6 separate regions of the Homo sapiens genome follow, and regions 1, 3, 4, 5 and 6 are each linked to region 2. The links are contacts of gene promoters, found by promoter capture Hi-C in blood cells and fetal thymus (Javierre and others, 2016). All regions are on one chromosome and are shown on one strand. Each heading gives the region's core, a stretch centred on a gene start or on the middle of the fragment in contact. The rest is flanking DNA. Distances are from core to core; before and after follow the strand shown. Region 1 has its middle 5.0 kb from the start of TBC1D7-LOC100130357. Region 2 holds the start of MYLIP (myosin regulatory light chain interacting protein). Region 3 overlaps PHACTR1 (phosphatase and actin regulator 1). Region 4 has its middle 23 kb from the start of CD83. Region 5 overlaps LOC107986571 (a long non-coding RNA gene). Region 6 holds the start of CD83 (CD83 molecule).

What was found. The method cuts DNA at HindIII sites, captures the fragments that hold promoters and counts their contacts. A CHiCAGO score of 5 or more calls a contact.
Region 1: a fragment that was not itself captured here is called in contact with the fragment with the promoter of MYLIP in region 2 in 1 of 17 cell types (fetal thymus); the score reaches 6.6 in fetal thymus.
Region 3: a contact is called between a fragment that was not itself captured here and the fragment with the promoter of MYLIP in region 2, in 1 of 17 cell types (total B cells). The highest score is 6.2, in total B cells.
Region 4: a contact is called between a fragment that was not itself captured here and the fragment with the promoter of MYLIP in region 2, in 1 of 17 cell types (naive B cells). The highest score is 6.0, in naive B cells.
Region 5: a contact is called between a fragment that was not itself captured here and the fragment with the promoter of MYLIP in region 2, in 1 of 17 cell types (fetal thymus). The highest score is 7.6, in fetal thymus.
Region 6: the fragment with the promoter of CD83 here is called in contact with the fragment with the promoter of MYLIP in region 2 in 1 of 17 cell types (fetal thymus); the score reaches 10.5 in fetal thymus.

The regions. Positions count from the first base shown.
Region 1 is chr6:13,331,813-13,335,198 of GRCh38, forward strand. No RefSeq gene overlaps it. Among named protein-coding and RNA genes, the nearest start is that of TBC1D7-LOC100130357, 5.0 kb to the left of the region's middle. The HindIII fragment of the contact is 775 bases long and covers 864-1,638 here.
Region 2 is chr6:16,127,242-16,130,375 of GRCh38, forward strand. MYLIP (myosin regulatory light chain interacting protein) reads left to right here and starts at 1,845. Exons shown (of 7, transcript NM_013262.4): 1 at 1,845-2,168. The coding sequence starts at 2,082. RefSeq lists a silencer at 1,527-2,526. The HindIII fragment of the contact is 2,730 bases long and covers 145-2,874 here.
Region 3 is chr6:13,270,954-13,274,428 of GRCh38, forward strand. It overlaps PHACTR1 (phosphatase and actin regulator 1), which reads left to right. Exons shown (of 15, transcript NM_030948.6): 11 at 1,907-1,962. The region is part of intron 8 of TBC1D7-LOC100130357 (TBC1D7-LOC100130357 readthrough); the gene reads right to left. It also overlaps a transcript of LOC100130357 not described here. Among named protein-coding and RNA genes, the nearest start is that of TBC1D7, 56 kb to the right of the region's middle. RefSeq lists enhancers at 1,527-1,626, 2,338-3,475. The HindIII fragment of the contact is 983 bases long and covers 1,106-2,088 here.
Region 4 is chr6:14,093,075-14,096,554 of GRCh38, forward strand. No RefSeq gene overlaps it. Among named protein-coding and RNA genes, the nearest start is that of CD83, 23 kb to the right of the region's middle. RefSeq lists enhancers at 1,261-1,390, 2,284-2,413 and a cis regulatory region at 2,262-2,762. The HindIII fragment of the contact is 1,797 bases long and covers 633-2,429 here.
Region 5 is chr6:13,816,641-13,819,920 of GRCh38, forward strand. The region is part of intron 1 of LOC107986571 (a long non-coding RNA gene); the gene reads left to right. Among named protein-coding and RNA genes, the nearest start is that of MCUR1, 3.7 kb to the left of the region's middle. The HindIII fragment of the contact is 1,528 bases long and covers 815-2,342 here.
Region 6 is chr6:14,116,522-14,119,964 of GRCh38, forward strand. It overlaps CD83 (CD83 molecule), which reads left to right and starts at 1,251. Exons shown (of 5, transcript NM_004233.4): 1 at 1,251-1,327; 2 at 1,429-1,544. The coding sequence starts at 1,291. RefSeq lists silencers at 577-871, 999-1,118 and cis regulatory regions at 614-1,522, 862-1,678, 862-1,517, 1,683-2,183, 1,754-2,580 and 1 more. The HindIII fragment of the contact is 8,136 bases long and covers 1-3,364 here.

The DNA.
Region 1 (3,386 bases), core at 1-2,500, 2.8 Mb before region 2:
CATTATTAGTCACTGGACTCTTAGCATAACACAGATTATAGAATGGAGTTGTCAGGCAATAAAATTTTGTGGAATTTAATTGAAATAAGACTTGTAAAACTCACAGGTGTACTTCACTGTAACAGGCATCACTCCTTTCTTGTAATATTTCTGCCCTCTAGTGGTTAGCCTTTTTTGCTAAATTATTTTTTAAAAAATGCACCGTACTGCTAGTTACAGAATCAAATCTCAAGGTTGAAAGGGACTTAAAGGTCAGCGAGTCCCATGAAGTGTGGTGCGGAGAGCTAAGCTTCAGGGCATAAAAACAGCCGCATATCTTCAGAAGTGGCATCCTATCTTTCAGCTTCTAAATTTACTTTGGCAGAATAGTAATTGTCACATACCACTGGCCTCAATCCTTGCGCCTCGTTTTCTAGAGATAAGGAAATGGAGATGGAGTGAGGTTATGGCTGTAGGACAACTGTCTTCATGTTGAGAAGCCATTAAAGTGAATGTAGTAAAAATCCCATCACAGCATAATTGGTGAACATATACATTCAGATAGTTCATGGGTCAAACCACATCTCCAAAACATCTGAAGAGAGACAAACCTGGATGGTCCTGGACACTCATTTCTTCTTCATTGTGGTAATTTGGCAGAAAACTGGCTCAGCAGGTCTGTGTTAACTCAGTCAGATAGGCAGAACCACCTCATCACTGTAAATATTTACAATATTAAGGGCATGGAGATCAGTCTTTATTGGAATGTTGGTCACAGCGCATGTAAACCTCTATGCCTGGTCTAAGCTGAGGGATAATTCGATTCCAGGGATGGCATGCACTCTACTACTTTCTGCTTGTATGTTTTTCCTCTAGTAAACCCAAGCTTATACCTGTATCACTTAACACAGTGGTGTGTTTTCATGGCCCTTCCTGAGCATGCATAACTGTACCCCAGAAATATGCTGTTACAGAGAGGAGACATTGGTTCACCTGTCAAAACGGGTGGCATATGTCTTACGTACATGTGATTATAGACTTCCAATACTGTCCTGGTATATAGAAACCTCTGGCTACAGCCATAGGTTTCCTAGTGCGTATGGGGTCATTTAACAAATAATGATTCCGTTAACCACTGATACTTGTCTGACCTCGGCCCTGTCTTCTCTTTTGCATGAATCTTTGATAGTTCTAGTGTCAAAACAGTAGGTACAGTCAGCGGGGTAGAAAAGCAAACTCTATTTTCAGTGAAACTAGAAAATAATATGTCAAGTAGGTGGAGAAGTTTCCAAAAGCAGTGGAAACCAAGCAGGGCACGTGTAGGAAAAGGCAGAGAACGAGAGAGAGGTCCAAAGCTACAGATCTCAGAAATAGCCAGCAAAACACACACTTCTCAAAGGTGAGGGGTTTACCTTGAGAAGCAATATGTATTTCTGTTGTGTGCCATCTTGGGAATAGAACAACCAGGCTGGTGACAAGGGCATCTCACAACCAAGTTAGATTCTGTGATGCAAAAAACAGGTCACTCTTCTAAAGATAACAATGATCAAATCTGGACGAAATATAAAAAACAAGTACTTGCAGGTGTTTTAGTGTAACCGAGAGCAGGTGGATTCTTGTGGGGTGTTGAGCTTTGGAAGAATGGAACAGCACCAGGTAAGCTTCCCATTTTCAAAGCCACTGGTGGGCTCACCCCTTGGCCCTGGGGGTGTGGTGGTTGTTTGCAGGGGCTGTGCCTGAAGCATGGGCCTGCGGTCTGGGGTACCTGTACACATGCACAGGAACTCCCAATCATGGAGGTGGAGGCAAGAGGAGAAGGAGGGCGATGGAACTGGTAGAAAGTGAACAGTTTCCGTATTCCCTTCTCTTCTGTATTGTGGAACGGTATGTATAGATTGGTATTGTCTCTTCCTTGAATGTTTGGTAGAATACACCAATGAAACTATCTGGGTCTAGAGTTTTCTTTGTGAGAAGGTTTTAAACTTTACATGCAATTTCTTCAATAGATAGAGGCTATTCAGGAGATCTGTTTCTTCTTTATTAAGATTTGGTAGTTTAGGGCTGGGCGCGGTGGCTCACGCTTGTAATCCTAGCATTTTGGGAGGCCGAGGTTGTTGGATCACTTGAGATCAGGAGTTCGAGACCAGCCTGGCCAACATGGTGAAACCCCGTCTATACTAAAAATTTAAAAAGTTAGCCAGGCATGGTGGCAGTTGCCTGTAATCCCAGCTACTCAGGAGGCTGAGGTGGGAGAATTGCTTGAACCCGGGAGACGGAGGTTGCAGTGAGCTGAGATGGCACCATTGCCCTCCAGCCTGGGCGACGAGAGCAAAACTCCATCTCAAAAAAAAAAAAAAAAAAAAAAAGATTTGGTAGTTTAGGTCTCTGAAGAAATGTTTCTATTTCATTTAAGTTTTTAAAAGTATTACATTAAATTCAGGAACACAATACATTGTTATTAACTTTAGTCACCATTATGGACAATAGAACTCTTAAACTTATTCCTGCTGTCTAAAATTTTTTACCCTTTGACCAACATCTCTCTAACACCTACCCACCCCAGCCCCTAATAACCTCCATTCTGCTCACTGCTTCTATTAGTTCAATGTTTTGAGATTCCACATATAAATGAGATCATGCAATATTTCTCTTTCTGGGCCTGGCTTATTTCACTCAACATAATAAGTCCTCCAGGTTTATCCATGTTACTGCAAATGGCAGGATTTCCTTCTTTTTAAAGGCTGTACATATATGTACCACATTTTCTTTACCCATGAATATACCCATGATTGGGATATTTCTCACACTGTGAGCTTAGGAAAACTTCATTCCTAAACAGTGGTTGGGATTGTGCCTCCACCAACTGACAGTAGATGTTTATCCATTAATCTCTTGCTGTACACTTGAGTTGTTTCATGCATTGGCTATTGTAATTAATGCTGCAATGGAGATAGGAGTGCAGACAGCTCTTCAGCATACTGGTTTCCATTTCTGTGGATATATACCCAGTAGTGGATTGCTGGGTCATATGATAGTAGAAAAAATTTTAAGAAGAAATATGCCCAAGTAACAATGCATTTGATAAGCGCAACCCAGGTAAGACACAAGAAATGTCATAGAAGTTAAGGTACTCCCTGGAGTGTTTAGAGAAGGCACTATATAGGAAATAGCATTTGAGCTGTGCAGTGAATAATTTTTATAGAAAAGAGTGCCTTTTCAACACAAGAAAGAGCAATCACTAAAACGCAAAGGCAGGAAATGACAATGTGTATGTGGATGATGGGAGCCAGCCTGGCAGCTGTGTTGGGGTCATGAGAGATAAGGCTTGGAGCTGGCAGGGTGGGTTGCAGGAGGCCCAAGGAGCGTGGGCCAAGCATGGGCTGTGGAGAGATGACTCAGAGCAGAGA
Region 2 (3,134 bases), core at 595-3,094:
AGGCACTGAACTTATAGCTCCCCTTACATACACGGGGACATTCAAATGCTTTTGTGAACGTTATTATCTTTGCTGCGCTTCCCAACAATGCTGGGTGGAGACAGAGCAGATATTGCCATCTCCATTTTACTGTTGACAACACCAAGCTTCAGACAGATGAAGTAAGTTTTCTCTTTTTTTTTCTTTCGTTGTTTTCTTTTTGTTGTTGTTGTTGTTTAGAGACAGGGTCTTTTGCTCTGTCGCCTAGGCTGGAGTGCAGTAGGGGGATCACAGCACACTGCAGCCTCGAACTCCCAGGCTCAAGTGATCCTCCCACCTCAGCCTCCCATGTAGCTGAGACTACAGGCAGGCGCCACCACGCCTGGCTAATTTTTTGTATTTTGTGTAGAGATGGGGTTTCGCTGTGTTGCGAAACCGGGCTGGTCTCAAACTGCTGGGCTCAGGCGATCCTCCTGCCTCGGCCTCCAAAAGTGCTGGGATTACAGGTGTGAGCCATCGAGCTGGCCTGAAGTAAGTTTGCTAAGTTTCCACGGCTGAAACCCACATCATCTGGCTCCTATAAAGAAATCAAAAAGGTAGGCTATGTAATATATTGGCAAAGAGGAACAAGCGGTAAATGAGTGAAGGGTTGTAGACCTTTAATAGCTAATATTGCAGTAATGCCACCTGTTAGGTCAGGAGATGAGCACCTTACCTTAAGACGAGGACAACATCTGGTTGCCTGTGAGAAGGGACAGGCAGGGTATCAGGTGCTGCACAAATGTTTAATGAATGAGTGAGATAAGACAGGAGGTAGAATGAGCAACCTGAGAGAGGGCCTGGTACCCTGTAAGGCGTTTTGATTCAGCAGAACGAGTAAGGAGAAGCCCTTCCGGAGTGTAACACACCAGCACTAGACCAAGACACCTGGCTCACTGGTCAGCTGCAAAAACTTTCATACTCAGATTTTGTTTTTCTCAATGATGAGGTCTTAATAAGGAACAACAATTCTGCCTCCAAGCAACCCACTGTGGCTAATCCTGGTGGAAAAGAGTTTTCTTTTTCTCTTTTTTTTTTCTTTTTTCTTTTTCTTTTCTTTTTTTTTTTTTTTTTTTTTTTTTTTTTGAGACAGGGTTTTTTGCTCTTCTTGCCCAAGCTACAGTGCAGTGACACAATCTCAGCTCACTGCAACCTCCGCCTCCTGGGTTCAAGCGATTCTCCTGCCTCAGCCTCCCAGGTAGCTGGGATTACAGGTGCCCGCCACCACGCCTGGCTATTTTGTTTTTTTTTTTGTATTTTTAGTAGAGACGGGGGTTTCACCATGTTTGCCAGGCTGGTCTCGAATCTGACCTCAGGTGATCCACCCATCTCGGCCTCCCAAAGTGCTGGGATTACAGGCGTGAGCCACCATGCCCGGACGAGAACAGTTTTCTTTAGGCTTTGGGTTGCTCCTTTTCCTTTTTGCTTTCACAACCGAAATGCGTGCTCAGAGTGATCCAAGATATTTGAAGAACAGTGGCAGCTTGGAGGTGTTTAATCACCGTAAATTCGAGACGGCAGAAAGGCGTCCCCGCCTGGAGCCCCGGGCGATCGCTCACTCTGAGCAGCGTCGCCCAGCGGACAGAGGCGGCTGGTGTGTTCCGGGGTCTCCCTCCCTTCCCGCAGCACTCGGCGCCCGCAAGCTGCCACCTCCCGGGGCGGCCAGGGAAACTCAGCCGGCTCTGGGAGGCGGGGGCCGCGGTCGAGGGGCGCCGCTATTGGCTGATCGGGCGGGGGAGGAGGGGCAGGGAGGCCGTGATTGGCGGGGACCCGAGCTGAAGGGGGCGGGGCCGCTATATCAGCAGAGTCCCTGTCGCAGCGCAGGCAGTTGGGCTGCTGGAGTGCGGCGCCACCGCGGAGGACAGGGGCAGCTGGCGGGCAGCGGGTGAGGGGGTGGCGGGGACGCGAGTGGCGGCCGCGGGGCCCCGGACAAGGGTCCGCAGAGCTGCAGCCTTCGAGGGCCAGCCCTCTCCGAGTCCGGGGCTGGGTCCCACCAGTGACAAGGCGGCAGCCCCGCGCACACCAAAGAGAAGGCGGCTGTGGCGGCAGCGGCAGCCCCAGCCATGCTGTGTTATGTGACGAGGCCGGACGCGGTGCTGATGGAGGTGGAGGTGGAGGCGAAAGCCAACGGCGAGGACTGCCTCAACCAGGTGAGGGCGAGGGGCAAGAAGGGGCCCCGGCGGGTCCCGCGAGGCCGAGGGGCCTCGCAGCGACGCCTGGCACTCTGGCGCGCCCCCTACTAGGGGCCGGGAGGCACTGCGGCGGCAGCCGGGGGGAGCGCGTCCCCTCCTCTCCACGGGCGTGGGGCGCGCGGTCTCCTCCTGGCGCGCGTGGGGTGCGCGGAGAAAGCGCGCAGCGGGGGTCCCCAGCGCTGAGGGCCGGGCGCAGCCCGCAGCCGGGATCCACCCCCCAGCGCCCCATCATCCCCCCAACCCAGCACTTTCCCGGAAGAAGGCGGCTCCGCACACCTGCCGCAGGTATGTGCGTGATGCCGCCTGTCGGGTCCCCGCGGCGCCTGGCAGTGCCACCCGCGTGCCAGGATGGGATGGAGTGGCTCGAAGCAGTCTCGGGCCCCAGGGGTTCTTGGCAGACAAGCCGGGCCCTTGTCTCACGCTGCTTCTCAGGCTGCTGCTCTCAAATGCACCGTTCACCTGCATCTCCGGGTTTGCGGGGGACGGGAGGAATAGGTTTGGGTCATCTACTGCTCGGTTGTTTTTAAGCATGTGTTTCCTTAACAGTGAGGGAGATCGGTGCCAAATAGTGCAGAGGTGGTATGGCAGACAGCACATGTGATCCCAGGAAAACGCTGTGCCCTCAACCCCTCTAGCTCTGAGATGTTTGGAAAACCGCTTGTGAAGCTTAGCTGACACTTGTGGCGTGTTCCCTCAATGTGTTTGATTTTTGGAGTCCAAATGGTTAAAATTGCCCAGATAATAAGTCGCCAAAAATCAGCTGTGCAGAGTATGCTGGTGGAGGGAATTCCGGTGATTGGAATACGAAGGAAAATACCCTGTAGTTTCCCCTCCTCATCTTTTGGAAGGCTACTTTTGAGGACTCCTTTTTTCTCTATTGCAATTGGTCATGCCCTAGACGTTAAAAGGAATTATGAGCCTCCA
Region 3 (3,475 bases), core at 347-2,846, 2.9 Mb before region 2:
AAAGCAGGAGCAAGAGAGAGAGAGAGAGTGAGCAGGGAGTTGCCACATGCTTTTTTTTTTTCTTTTTTTTTTTTTGAGACAGTCTCACTTTGTCACCCAGGCTGGAGTGCAGTGGCGCAATGTCGGCTCACTGCAACCTCCACCTCCCAGGTTCAAGCGATTCTCCTGCCTCAGCCTCCCAAGTAGCTAGGATTACAGGCATGTGCCACCATGCCCGGCTAATTTTTGTATTTTTAATAGAGACGGGGTTTCGCCACAAAGTTTTAAATGACCAGATCTTGCAAGAACTCACTGTCAAGAAGCTAGGACCAAGCCATGAGGGCTCCCCATCCAAGCACCTTGCACCAGGCCTCCCCCCGAGCAATGGGGATTACCATTCAACATGAGATTTGGGCAGCGACAAATATCCAAACTATATGAGACATTGAAGCCCATTCCCTATATAGGATGTGTGGTGGTGACACGGGAATGTCACAGAAGCAATTGATTCTGGCCCAGCACAATAAACAAAAACACAAATGACAACAAGCTTTGAATTAAAAATATAGTCCTTTCTGGGAGATTGATTCCAGGACTCCCTTGGATACCAAAATCCAAGGAAGCTCAAGTCCCTTGTATAAAATGGCGTAGTATTTGCAAAAAACTATGTGTATCCTCCCATATCCTTTAAATCATCTCTAAATTACTTATATCTAATACAAGATAAATGCTATATCAATAATTTTAGACTATTGTTTTTTGTTTGTTTTTTTTTTTAATATTTTCCGTCAGCAGTTGGTAGAACCGAAGAATGTGGAACTCATGGACACAGAGGACCAACTGTAGTTAGGTTTGGAGACTTCATTGACTTGATATTTTCACTCTAGGATCTCTCTTTAGATTTCAAGATGTGAACATCTTGCCGACTATAGACACCAGTTTCTAATACCCAAGGAGGGACTGCAACTTCCTCAACTAGGAGAGCATCATTTCTACCCCTTAGATCCCAATAGAGGAGTCTGAGAAGCCTAAAATTTCTTCTACAATGATTCAGTTTCTCACACACCTCATCCCAATGGGTGAAGTGGAATGCCGGATAATTGCAGGTTGTTAAATAATTACCAAAAGCTTCAAAGGTACAGATGTCTCTGTTCCTGCTCAGGCTCCTGAGTCCGTGTCAGTCATTCCTGGGACCTAATGCAGGCATTCTCCCCTCAGATGCCATGCCCGTTCCCTGGCTACTTCTGTCACTACGTGCCATCCACTGCCTGTCCCGCCTCCACCCATTGCGTCATTGCAGGCTCATGCCCTGGCTATGATGTTTCATGTACGGTGGCTAAATTTCACGCCTGGCCACAGAAGTATCATTTCTGTGCCTTTGCCACTCATGTCTTCTAAGCCTCCGAAATAAGAGGAGCAGGACCAGAAGAAGAGCAGCCATTGTTCTCTGCAGACAGACACATTCTCTCACATGTCCCCGGGGCCACAGACCTCTTTATGTTCTAACTGGGTCTGCACAGAAGAGGCAGGAGACAGGCTTTAGCCTCAAGGGAGGGAGAGAGAGGCAAGAGGCCACAGTCCCCAAGTTAGGAGGCCACAAGGAAAGAAAAGGACTTCTGTGAAGAAAAGAGTCCCGTCTGAGTTGCAGTCCACTTGCCTGGGGCCACTGGAGGAGATGGGGCTGGGGAGGGGCCGCTGCAGGGAGGAGGGCGGGGGTCAGCGGCTGTGACATGACGCACGTGCCTCTCCTGGGCTTGAAATTGAGGAACTGAGGAGGCGGTGGTGGCGAGAGTCAGTCTTTCAGAGCACAGGATGGAACAAGAACTCCAGCCACTGACTGTCTCATGTATCTGCAAGGGCCGAGGAAATTAATGACCCAAGGAGGCTATGATATGGTCCAAAAACTTTTCCTGGATTTTTTCCGTAGGCGGCTGAGCCAGAGGCCAACTGCAGAGGAACTGGAACAGAGGAACATTTTGAAACGTAAGTGACTAAGCCCATGGCAATCCCTGATGTTTTGTGGCGGCTTTTGTTATTATTTAATGGTAGGCCACAAGGTTTCTACCTTGCGCCTCTGCGGAAAGCATTGAAAACCTTTCTAACGGTTGAAGCTTCATGTGTGCATGTTAGAACACCAAAGACGACCTCCCCAAAGAGAAGGCAAATTTTATTCCACTTTATTCTTTAGAAGCTCACGGGCGGCAGGCAGAACCTTCCTTTTAGTGAGTTGTAAAGTCAGAGAGAAGCTGAAAAATTAGAGTGAGACCACTTATTATTTAATGATTTTTAAGAGCAGGGTCACCTTTAAACCAGAATTGGCTTGAAAATGGAGACTGTGATATGCACGGCTAAAATAAGGGAAATGTCCATTTGAACTGAGACTAGAAAGCATGACTTTGCATTGCAGCTGGCTGCTGTTGATAAAAATCCCTCATCCCTTTGAATGTTAAATTGAAAGACTAAGAAAGCATTTCCAAGTGAAGTGCTTCATGTCTGTCTCTCAGGATTCCCACAGCTGGTCCCGGGCATGCCTGTCTGATGCTCTCATTCGAGGAAAACTGCCTTTCACCATTGCTGCAGACAGAAAAAAATAAATGAGCCCCTTGTTTGGTTTAGGACACAGAGACATTTGAATATGTACAGAGGATCCACTTGGTGCTTTAAAAAAAAAAAGAGAAAACAGGATACAAAATACTAAAAGAGATCAAGCATTTGATGGACAGCAGTATGCGTCAGTTTAGTGGTAGATATTAAATAACTTAAATATCAAACCATTCTATTCATTCATTGCTACCATTCTCGCCAACACTGGCCTCAAGATAGTGAACAAATATTTCTGGCTTAATTCATGACCCTGTTCCCCCTACCCCACAACACACTTCTAATTTCTCTCCAGAAGAGAAAGATATATACTATGCAGAGTTTTCTAGAAATGCTATGTTGTACAGACTGACTCCTTGCCTCCCCCGGCCCCCCCGCCCCGCCCCGCCCCGTGCCCAGTAAATCACATGCAACCGCAGTGTGAGTTTGCCGGGAATTTCCACTGAAACCACACTAAGATATTCTTGACTTTACCTTTCTACCGTGCTCACTGTGGCCTTGTGACTTGGTCGGCATTTCGTAGTCTGCTGAAGGTGGGTGCTGGGTTCCGCTTTGGTGGGGAGACCTGTTGCCTACAGCACCCACCCCCGCCCGACGCCCCCGCATGTCCGTTTATGTCAACTCTGCCTTTATCAATGTCTTGCCTCCCGTCCCCACGCCAGCCGCCACTTCCTCAACTCTCAGTAGAAGTTATTTTCAGGATTAGCCTTCCTCAGTCGTGGGGGAACCCTACGCTTTGCCTAGGTCTCTAGGAATGTGTGTTTACTTTTTTCTGCCCAAGGGGTACCCTTTAAAGTTTCCAAGCTTAATATTCTATATAATGAATTCAGAGCTTTTTCAAAGCATTTCCAAGGTCAGGGAAGCATTTGGCTTGTAGGATGTCTTCCTTTCGGCC
Region 4 (3,480 bases), core at 281-2,780, 2.0 Mb before region 2:
CATCCTGTACTCGCATGGTCCCTGTTCTCAATGACTTTATAGTCTTGTTGATAAGGTTTCAAACATGCAAGTATTGAGTAATATGTCAGACTGACTTCTAGAAAACGTTTTATTGACTATGATCAGGGGCCCAAATATAGGACACCAAAAAGAAGGATTTAGGGTGGACAAGTTGTAGAGAAGCTAAAGGAACCAAGGAAGGTGTCACAAAAGAGGTGGTTTGAGGAGTGTGTGATGCAAGGATAGGGTAATAATTCATCTCTAGTCTAAATCAGACCTTATTTTGGCAATTTTATTAGTCATCAACTACCGCAATAATGTATAACAAATAATGCCCCAAGTCTCACTGGCTGACGCCACAAACATTCATTTTTTTATTCACAGGTCTGTGGATTGGCAGGGACTCAGCTGATCTTGGCTGGGCTCCACTGGGCATGGCTCCAGGCTCCAGGTCTACTTTGGGCCTGCTTTATATATTTTGTTCTGGAACTGGCACCACCTGGGGCATAGTCTTCTTACGGTGATGGCGGAAATACAACAGGCCAAGTCAAATCATGCAAGCACATTTAAAGCCTCTTTTACATCATTTCCACTAGCGTCTGTTATTCAAGGCAAAGCCTGTGGCTGAGCCAAGCTTCCATGGGGTGAGGAAAAACACTGCACTCATTCTAGTGAGAGCCACTGCAAAGTCACATGGCAAAGGTCACGGGTGTAGAATTCTGTAACAGAGAGAGAGTGAAGAATGGGAAACAAAAATTCAATGTACCCCAGTCACATTTTTGAAAAAAATAGTGGAAAAATTGCAAACAGTATAGATTAAAAAAACAACAACAACAAAACCTGCACAGTACAGGAACCAAGTGAAGAATGTAGGTGGAGATAATTGTGTTTAGCTGGCCTGAAATGAAAAGACTAATAGTCACTTCCACCACTATCTTTGAGTTTGCAAGTTTGTGAGGGGCCTAATGCTGACTAGTGGACCCTCCTGGCTGAAAAAAAAAAGACAGTAGACTGGAGTTAAATGAGAACTCAAGTTGCGAGAAAAATCTTCCCTCTTTGGGAGATAAAGCCCTGGCAGCAAGAACTGAAGGAGGTAGAGTACTATTTCTGCATCTTCAGGGAGAGCTGCAAGGAGAGGGAGCTGTGTCTTGTCTCACTGAGGTGCCTGGACAAGATGAACATTTCAGGTCTTTTTCAGTTCTAGGTTTCTATGATGTCAGTGCTACTTCCCTTTCCAAAACCCCACAGTGGCCAGGCATCACAGTGCCACAAGTGAAAAGACCCATGACTGCCTTTATAAGTAAGTTCTTCTTTTGGTTTCTCTGGCAGGAGGCAGATGGAGGAGGAGAGAAAGGCCAGAGGTCTGTTTTGGGGTTGTTGTCTCTGGTTGTCTAAGTCATGCCAAGACACCACCCCTTGGAGCCTGGTTCCTGACATCCGGCAGCATGGCATACTTGAAGGGCATGATGTGGGGATAACAACAGAGCCCTGGCTGAGTCCGGTGGCTCACGCCTGTAATCCCAGCACTTTGGGAGGCCGAGGCAGGCGGATCACCTGAGGTCAGGAGTTTGAGACCAGCCTGGTCCACGTGACAAAACCCTGTCTCTACTGAAAATACAAAAAAAGTTTGCCGGGCATGGTGGCACACACACACACACGCACGCACACACACACACACATGCCCCCATAAGCATCCCAGTATTTGGAAGCAATCAGTTGATTTTTTTTCTTTTTAGAATTCAGTTTGGTGTTATAGGGACACTGCTAGCCTCAGGCAGTGCCGCAAGAGCAGATCAAGGCTCTGATTAAAAAATTCCTCAGTTGCTCCCAGCTGGAGATGTCTGCTTACAAAGCCCTTACAAAGAAATGTTTTTCAATAGGCAACATTCTCTGGTCTGGCCCCACCAAGGAAGTACAGCAGGAAATCTCACAGGCATCCCGATTGCCATTGCCCTCCTGCTCCCAGACACACACTTGGCCCCAACTGGCCTCTGACATGCTCCATGGGGAGCAAAATGGACTTGCTCCATTTTATCCATTGCTCTGGGCTCCACGGTGTTAAGCATGATGGCTTGGAAACTCTATATACCCAGTAAATGAATGCTTGTTGAATAACTTAATGAACACACCCCATGTCAGCCTATCTCCTCAATGCACATCCGCCAGCCACCTCAGCTCAGGCACCTCGCTGATTTTCAAAACATGGGCTAAAAGCTACCATAGGGCATCTAATTATACCTTCTGGTGTAGAAGGTGTTCTCTCATAGGAGGCCTTAGCCAAGTTTGAGAACAAGGACTTTGTATGGAATGAGCTGCATAATGGACAGCACTGGCTGGACCAGCCATTGGGGGTGTCTCTGGCTGAAATTTAACAAAGTTTCCATAGACCTTTTACCAGATTTACTGAGAATGTTGATTTCCTCTATTAAAGCTTAAACGTCAATTCAGGGGAATTTCCCCATAAATGTTGTGAGACTAAACGTGGCTTCTTGTGGGTTCCACATGGGAGCTCACCAGGATGTTGCCCAGCCTTTGTAAAGGTCTGCCTGGTTTCCTGTACCTAGTGGTCAACGTCAGCAGCTGTACCTGTGCCCAGCATTGGGAGGCTCGTCCTCGGCCCTCACCCGGCCATAGGCAGTCAACATCACTAGTTCTCCCCTGCTTAGCACCCAGTGGCTGCCTTTTTGGCCTCTAAACTTGCTTCCCTGTGTTCTTGATCCCTGAAGCTCACCACTGGTCCACCTGCCAATTACTCACTTTAATCTTATCAGAGTAGATACCCAGGTTTTACATTTCACCCAACAGAACTTGAGTCCTAATTCTCATTTCCTTCCTTTCATCCATGAGCTTTACATGGGAATTTGCATTTACAGTTATGCCTGTGAATTCAGAGGCCTCCCCTGGACCAGGCGGTCATGTGCTGAGTGAGGCGGGTGACCAGCTTGGAAGCCAGGGCGGGAAGTTCGCATGGCCCTCTGGGTGAATCCTTTGCTTCCCTGCTTTGGAAGACAGCTGGCTGCAGAGCAAGAGTTCTCTTGTGTGAGGCCCATGGCAGTGTCGGACCCTAAATGGCCATTGGAACACACCCCCAGGTTTCTAGCTGCACTGGGTAGGGGTGGGTGAAGGAGAACTGAGGGCGCGTCAGCCTCTCCTGCCTGGACAAAAAGGCATGTAGGTCACAGTTCTCCCCAGGTGTTCTCAAGTCTTGCTTGTTTGTTGTCAAGAGAAGGCAGAATTCTGCCTTGAAAAAAACCTCTGTGATGGCCATTTAAACAGCCTGTGGATTGTTTCCAGGCCTGAGCACTGCTGGAGGAGGATGCTGGCTTACAGAGGCCTCTCCAAAGCATCAGTCTTTGGACTCCCAGGAGCACTATTATTAGCCTCCCTTCACATTCAGAAGGCGCCCACCCACAAGAGTGGGTGGATATCAGGGTCTGGGCCCACATCTTCTGACTCCAAGTCTGTGTATCTTGCTACCAT
Region 5 (3,280 bases), core at 329-2,828, 2.3 Mb before region 2:
GGAAAGTATCTGGGTCAAATTGCTGAATCATATGGTAGCTTAACTTTAGACACTGCTGAATTGTTTTTCCAAAGCGACTGCACCCTTTCACACTCTTAGCAATAGATGAGCGTTTCGGTTGTTCCACATCCTTGCCAAATTTTGATATTTTCAGTCCTCATAAAATGGTACCTTATTGTGATTTTTAACATAACATTTCCCTGATGCCTAATGATGTTGACTAACTTTTCATGTATTACTATTACCAGCCATATTGAATACAATAACATATGTAAAGCACTTAGCACAGTGCCTGGCCTATGATAGGAGTATAATGAATGTCAGTTCTAACTACAGGTTGGATAGCATCCACTTTTCCTTGGATGTGACACCTGTTGTTTTATTTTCCAAAGCATTCCCTTTCTTTTGGTCTCAGCACCCTAGTTTTCCATGGGCAGTGGCTCTTCTCTGCTCTCAGTCCATGCGGTTTGGAGAGACTGATCGCTCTGCAGACCACAGGCATGGGCATGTCACCCAATCAGAGTTAATGAGCAGCCGGGCGCGGTGGCTCACGCCTGTAATCCCAGCACTTTGGGAGGCCAAGGAGGGCGGATCACTTGAGGTCGGGAGTTGGAGACCAGTCTAGAGAAACCCCGTCTCTACTAAAAATACAAAATTAGCTGGGTGTGGTGGCACATGCCTGTAATCCCCGCTACTTGGGAGGCTGAGACAGGAGGACTGCTTGAACCCAGGAGGTGGAGGTTGCGGTGAGCTGAGATTGCACCATTGCACTCCAGCCTGGGCAACAAGAGTGAAATTCCATCTAAAAAAAAAAAGCTTCAATTCTAGGATTCTTTTTTTGTTTGTTTATTTGAGATGGAGTCTCACTCTGTTGCCCAGGCTGGAGTGTGGTGGCTCAATCTTGGCTCATTGCAACCTCCACCTCCTGGGTTCAAGCGATTCTCCTGTCTCAGCCTCCCACGTAACTGGGATTACAAGCAAGCACCACCATGCCCAGCTAATTTTTGTATTTTTTAGTAGAGACGGGGTTTCACCATGTTGGCCAGGCTAGTCTCAAACTCCTGACCTCAAGTGACCTGCCTGCCTCAGCCTCCCAAATTGCTGGGATTACACGTGTGAGCCACCACGCCTGGCCCAATTCTAGGGTTCTTAATAGGAACTATTGGGAAGAGGTCGTCTTATTTTATTGTGATGTCTAGGTATAGGATGATTTGAACCATGAGCTCCTGGGGCTACCATGTGGCCTAAGACTAAAGCCCTTATGAAGAAAAGAAGACTGAGAAATGAAGAGACGGGTCCTTTTGAGCGTCTGATTCTAGCTTAGGCTGAAATTGGCATTTTATTTATGTAATCCAATAAGTTGCTTTTACTTAAACCAGCTGGGATAGGGCTTCTGATTCCTATCCCGGATACATTAGTGTACATTAGGATAATCTAGACATGTTAGACTTCTGTCTATGTATAGAGAGACTAGATACAGGAATCTAATGGCCAATGAAGAAGAAGAAGTATCAACTAATTAATGGATCAGGCAGGAGCCAGACAACCCCCATGTGAACCATGACAAAGTTGGACTTTATGACAAAGTTGGATTGGTGAATATACTTGGATCTGGGGCCAAAGTGGGGCCATCTTACTCTCTCTCTGTATCTAGACTTAGGGACCTCCCATGAGTAAAGCTGGATTCACAGAGCAGACTCTGACTTAGCCACCATCTGTGAGAAGTTTAGGTGGCCTTATATATTCTAGGTGTCATCAGGAGAAAAGAGATGGAAGATGGCCAGAGCTATCCCTGAAAGATCTACTGGGTCTGTTTTAGCAGGTAGTAACAGAAAGGTCAAGGGCTCATTGTCCCCGGTGCAAGCAGGTCAAAGAGAGAACAAAGGAGTTGGAACATTCCTGGATGTGACCTTTAGCATACTGATACTCTTACTAGTAAACACTGATGGGGGAATGTCAACTTCCACTAATCAAACTACTATTCTCCGTAATTGAAGAGTGTTAAAGGGTGAAGAAAGGATTCTCCTTCTGGGTAAAATGGAATAAGCACACTCCACCCTGTCTTTCCACCTGAATGCAGGCATAAAAGCTGGACAGAATGCATAGAGCCACTATTTGAGGACTCTGAAAAGTAAATAATAGCAGGCACATCAGTGAAGAAGACAAAAATCAAAGTACCACTGAACTGATGTTTAGTTTAGTATTTTTTCCAATGTATGAGCTCCCCTAGCTTGAACTGTCAACCCATAGTTCTATTACTAGCAAAAATATCCTTCAGTAATGAAGTGATGAAATAAAGACATCCTCAGATGAAGGAAAACTAAGAGGAGTTGTTTTTAGTAAGCTTGCACTAAAAGAATTGCTAAAGGAAATTCACCATATAGTAGGGAAATGATACCAAAAGGAAACTTGGAGCATTAGGAATAAAGGAAGAGCAACAGAAATGGCAAATACCAAGATAAGTATAATATTCTTCTCCTCTTTAGTTCTTTAAAATATGTTAAATGATAGAAAGCAAAAATTCAAACAATGGTGAAGTTTTTAATGTTTATAGATGTGGTATATAATAACTACAAAATAAAAGGGCAAGGATAAAGAGACCTATATGGTAGTGAAGTTTTCATATTGCACTTACAGTGGTAAAATACTGATTCTAAGTAGAGTTAGAAAAAGTTAAATATGTCTACTGTAATCCCTAGAGCAACCCATAAAGATACTGTACAAAGAGATATAGGTTGGGCACAGAGGCTCATGCCTGTAATCCCAATACTTTGGGAGGCTGAGGTGGGAGGATGGCTTGAGGTCAGGAATTCAAGACTAGCCTAGGAAACATAGTGAGACCCCACCTCTACAAAAAAAAAAAAAAAAAAAAAAAAAAGAAAGCCAGACATGGTGGTGAATGCTTATAGTCCTAGCTACTCAGGGGGCTGAGGTGGGAGAATCACTTGAGCCCAAGAGTTTGAGGCTGCAGTGAGCTATGATCAAGTCAAAACACATAATAGATAAAATGTAATATTAAAAAATGTTCAAGTAACCCAAAAGGAGATAGGAAAGGAGAAATAGAAGAACAAAAAACAGAGATAAAAACTAAAAGCAAACAATAAAATATTAGGCATCAATCTAAACATATCAATAATTACATTAAGTGTAAATGGTCTAAATCAGTGGTTGAGGAATGTTTTTAAAAAGCCATATAGTAAATATTCGGCTTTGTGAACCATAAGCAATCTCTTTTACATATTGTTCTGTTCAAAAACAGGTGGTGGGTTGGATTTGGCCC
Region 6 (3,443 bases), core at 1-2,500, 2.0 Mb before region 2:
TGGATGGACAAAGATAGAAAGGTTGGATAACAGTTTGTGTTGGCAAACAGGCACTCTCTTTGCAGATGGGAATATAGATTGAAGACACCTCCTTGCAGGTAATTTTTTGGCAATATTTGACAAAATTGGAAACTCCCCTTCACCTAGCACAATTTCCTTGAGGTATTTATTCTAAGAAAATAAGCAATTTTAGAGCAAAGATTTATCTACACTGAAGTTTCCCATAGCAATCACAGTATTGTTTCTAATATTAGTAATACAAAAAGAAACAACCTGTATGTCTAACACTAATCGATTCTAATTTATGGTGCAACTGAACAATGGACCAAAATGATGCTGTTGGAAGTTTTTAATGATGTGGAACCGCTTGCAAATTATTAAGCTAAAAGAAAGTAGGTTACAAGATAGCAGGAAGAATAAACCATTAAAAATACCAATCTGTGCACTGACAAATGTTATAAATATTTTACGTTATGTTATGTTATAAACATTTTATAATATAAAAAAATGTTAACTGAAGTTACTTCCTGGATGAATTACAGGTGATTTCATTGTCTTCTAGAATTTTCTTTTCCAAAAATGTTGTGTATGCGTGTAATTATTATTTTAATAGGAGACACTCTCCTTTGGTGATATAATTTAAACAGGACGGTACTGACTGATAACCTCCCGGGGAAGGCAGGGAGCCAAGTACTACAGACTTGTATGTTTCCATGGAAATCTAACGCGCCTTTGATTATCACAGATTCTGGAGAAGAGTGAGGACTTGGGTTCACCAGTGCGTTCCCAAGGACAGGCTGGGCTTCTGAGGAAGTTGCCCACCCTCTCGGAATCTGGTTTGGCCTCCGTAAAATGGGCAGATCCCGCTCGGATGGCCCGGTTCCCGGCTTCCTTTTGCGGGTCAACGGCAGCGTCACGCGCGCGAGCGCGGTCTGCAAAGCCCCCAGCGCTGGGCGTCACGCGGGGATTGCTGTCGCCGCTGCCAGCCGCAGCAGCGACGCGAACTCGGGGCGCCCGGCCCGGGCGCGCGGGGGCGGGGACGCGCACGCGGCGAGGGCGGCGGGTGCGACGGGGGCGGGGACGGGGGCGGGGACGGGGGCGAAGGGGGCGGGGACGGGGGCGCCCCGGCCTAAGCGGGACTAGGAGGGCGCGCCACCCGCTTCCGCTGCCCGCCGGGGAATCCCCCGGGCTGGCGCGCAGGGAAGTTCCCGAACGCGCGGGCATAAAAGGGCAGCCGGCGCCCGCGCGCCACAGCTCTGCAGCTCGTGGCAGCGGCGCAGCGCTCCAGCCATGTCGCGCGGCCTCCAGCTTCTGCTCCTGAGCTGCGGTAGGGCTCGCGAGCGCCTGTCTCGCCTGTCGCCCCCCGCCCCTCCACGACACCCCCTCCCGTCGGTCGCTTGCTCACGACGCGCTCTCTCTTTCTTGTAGCCTACAGCCTGGCTCCCGCGACGCCGGAGGTGAAGGTGGCTTGCTCCGAAGATGTGGACTTGCCCTGCACCGCCCCCTGGGATCCGCAGGTTCCCTACACGGTCTCCTGGGTCAAGGTAGGTGCTGCGATACCCACGGGCTGGGGTTTGGTGGGCTCATTTGAAGACAGCAGGAACCATCTCCCCTAGGCTGGCGACCCTCTGTGGCTGCCAGGTGGGGGCGAGGGGCGTCTCCCGCAGCTGAACTTGGAGTACCCAGCCTCCCGTCGCGCCTCCCCCACCCCATCCGCATCCAGGTACAGGGCCGAATTAGGTTTTGCTCTCCGCAGACCTCAATCCCCTTCCTGTCACTGAAGGTGGCCTGAGATGAATGATCCACTTAAGATGTTTTGGAAGGGCAGAGACTCTCATTTGGATTAATTCTGGAGGCCACCTGTGGTTGTGGGCCAGCAGGTCAGGAAGAAAGCAACAGGGACCTAGATTTGGGCATTGGACAGGGGGAATGTCTCCAGACTTCTGATTTCTTGTGTTTTGTGACTGTGATGCCCATGATACATGGGAGGGGGAGGGGGCAATTTGAAAGGAAAGGCTAAGACACAGAAGTGACTTAGGCCATTTCATCCATGGTAGTTATCAGTGGTCATCTCCTTTGTGGGATACCCTTGGCTTCCTCCCCTAGCCCTCCTCCTCCTTCCTCTGGCAGCCTTGAGAGCATCAGGTGGATGCATGAGCCGGAGCCCGCATGTGTAAGAACAGGCCTTGCTGCTCCTACTGTAAGTGGACTGAGTGACAAGGAGGCTTTTTCAAGGTTTCCTCTTGACTGAAACATTCTCAGATTCTAAGATGGCAATGATGGTGTCATTCCAAAGCCAAGCAGCTACTGTTTGATATCACTGGTCCTTCTTTAAGTCAGGCCACTGCTACCACAGCACCTCCATTTTAACCCAAATGAATATGATATTACAACCTTACTCTGTAGCTCTCACTGATTTGCTGTCTTACCACGGGGGCAAATCTCTGCACTTGTAGCTTTCCCCAAAATGCAGGGCGTTCTTCTGCCCACCATAAAAGATACTATAAGAAACTGTACGTCTTTGGCCACTTAACAGTACAAGGCATCATTGCGGTGATCTCTTTGTGTGTGTGTCTCCTAACTGGATGGTCAGTTCCCTGGGGGGCAGTGGCTGTATCCATACTTCTGTGTATTCTTCACGGCACCTAATTTTTGCCCTATAAATTGCAAAGGTGCTCTGTGAATTCAGCCCAGCACTTCATGAGTTATGCATGACGGGGATGGTGCTGCTGCCTCAGAGCATTGTATTGTGTATAAAAGTAAGGTGTTAAATATTCCTACTTCATTGGTACCTTACTTACTGTGGGATCAGAGAACACAACAATTCCGAAATTGTTCTCATAGTCAAAACAATAGTATTTTTAAAAATATTGTAAAAACAATTTTTGAATGCTCACCACGTGCCAAGCTCCAAGGTAAATATTTACATACATTATCCATTTCCATCCATCGGAAGAATGGACTTAGGGATTAGTACTGTTACTATTCCTACTTTACAGGTGAGGAAACTGAGCCTTAGGGAGGGAAATAACTTGTCCACTTTTGCACAGCTAGCTAAATGGTGGAGTTGGGATTTGAACGAAGCAGTCTGATTCCAAATCCTGAGTTGTTAGAGGTCTATCTTGATCTCTGTTTTCTCCCTTAATAACTTAAGATAAAGAAAATCAAAGTGCCCCTGGGCTAACCAGGCAGGGACTTAGTTATCTCAAAGAACGGGGAAAAACATGAAACCACTATCCCTTCCAGAGAGTAACTATTTAATAAAGAAAACATTATTAATACCCCCAGGGGAGTAATTAAAAAGTACTCATGAAACAAGTAGATGAAATTTCAGGCTGTGAAGTTCAAACAGTTCTGGAGTGAAAGCTTCTTGCACAGGGTCATTTGGAATGGTCCACTAAACCATAGCAATTAACCTTGGACTTCTCCTTGGATGTCAGCTG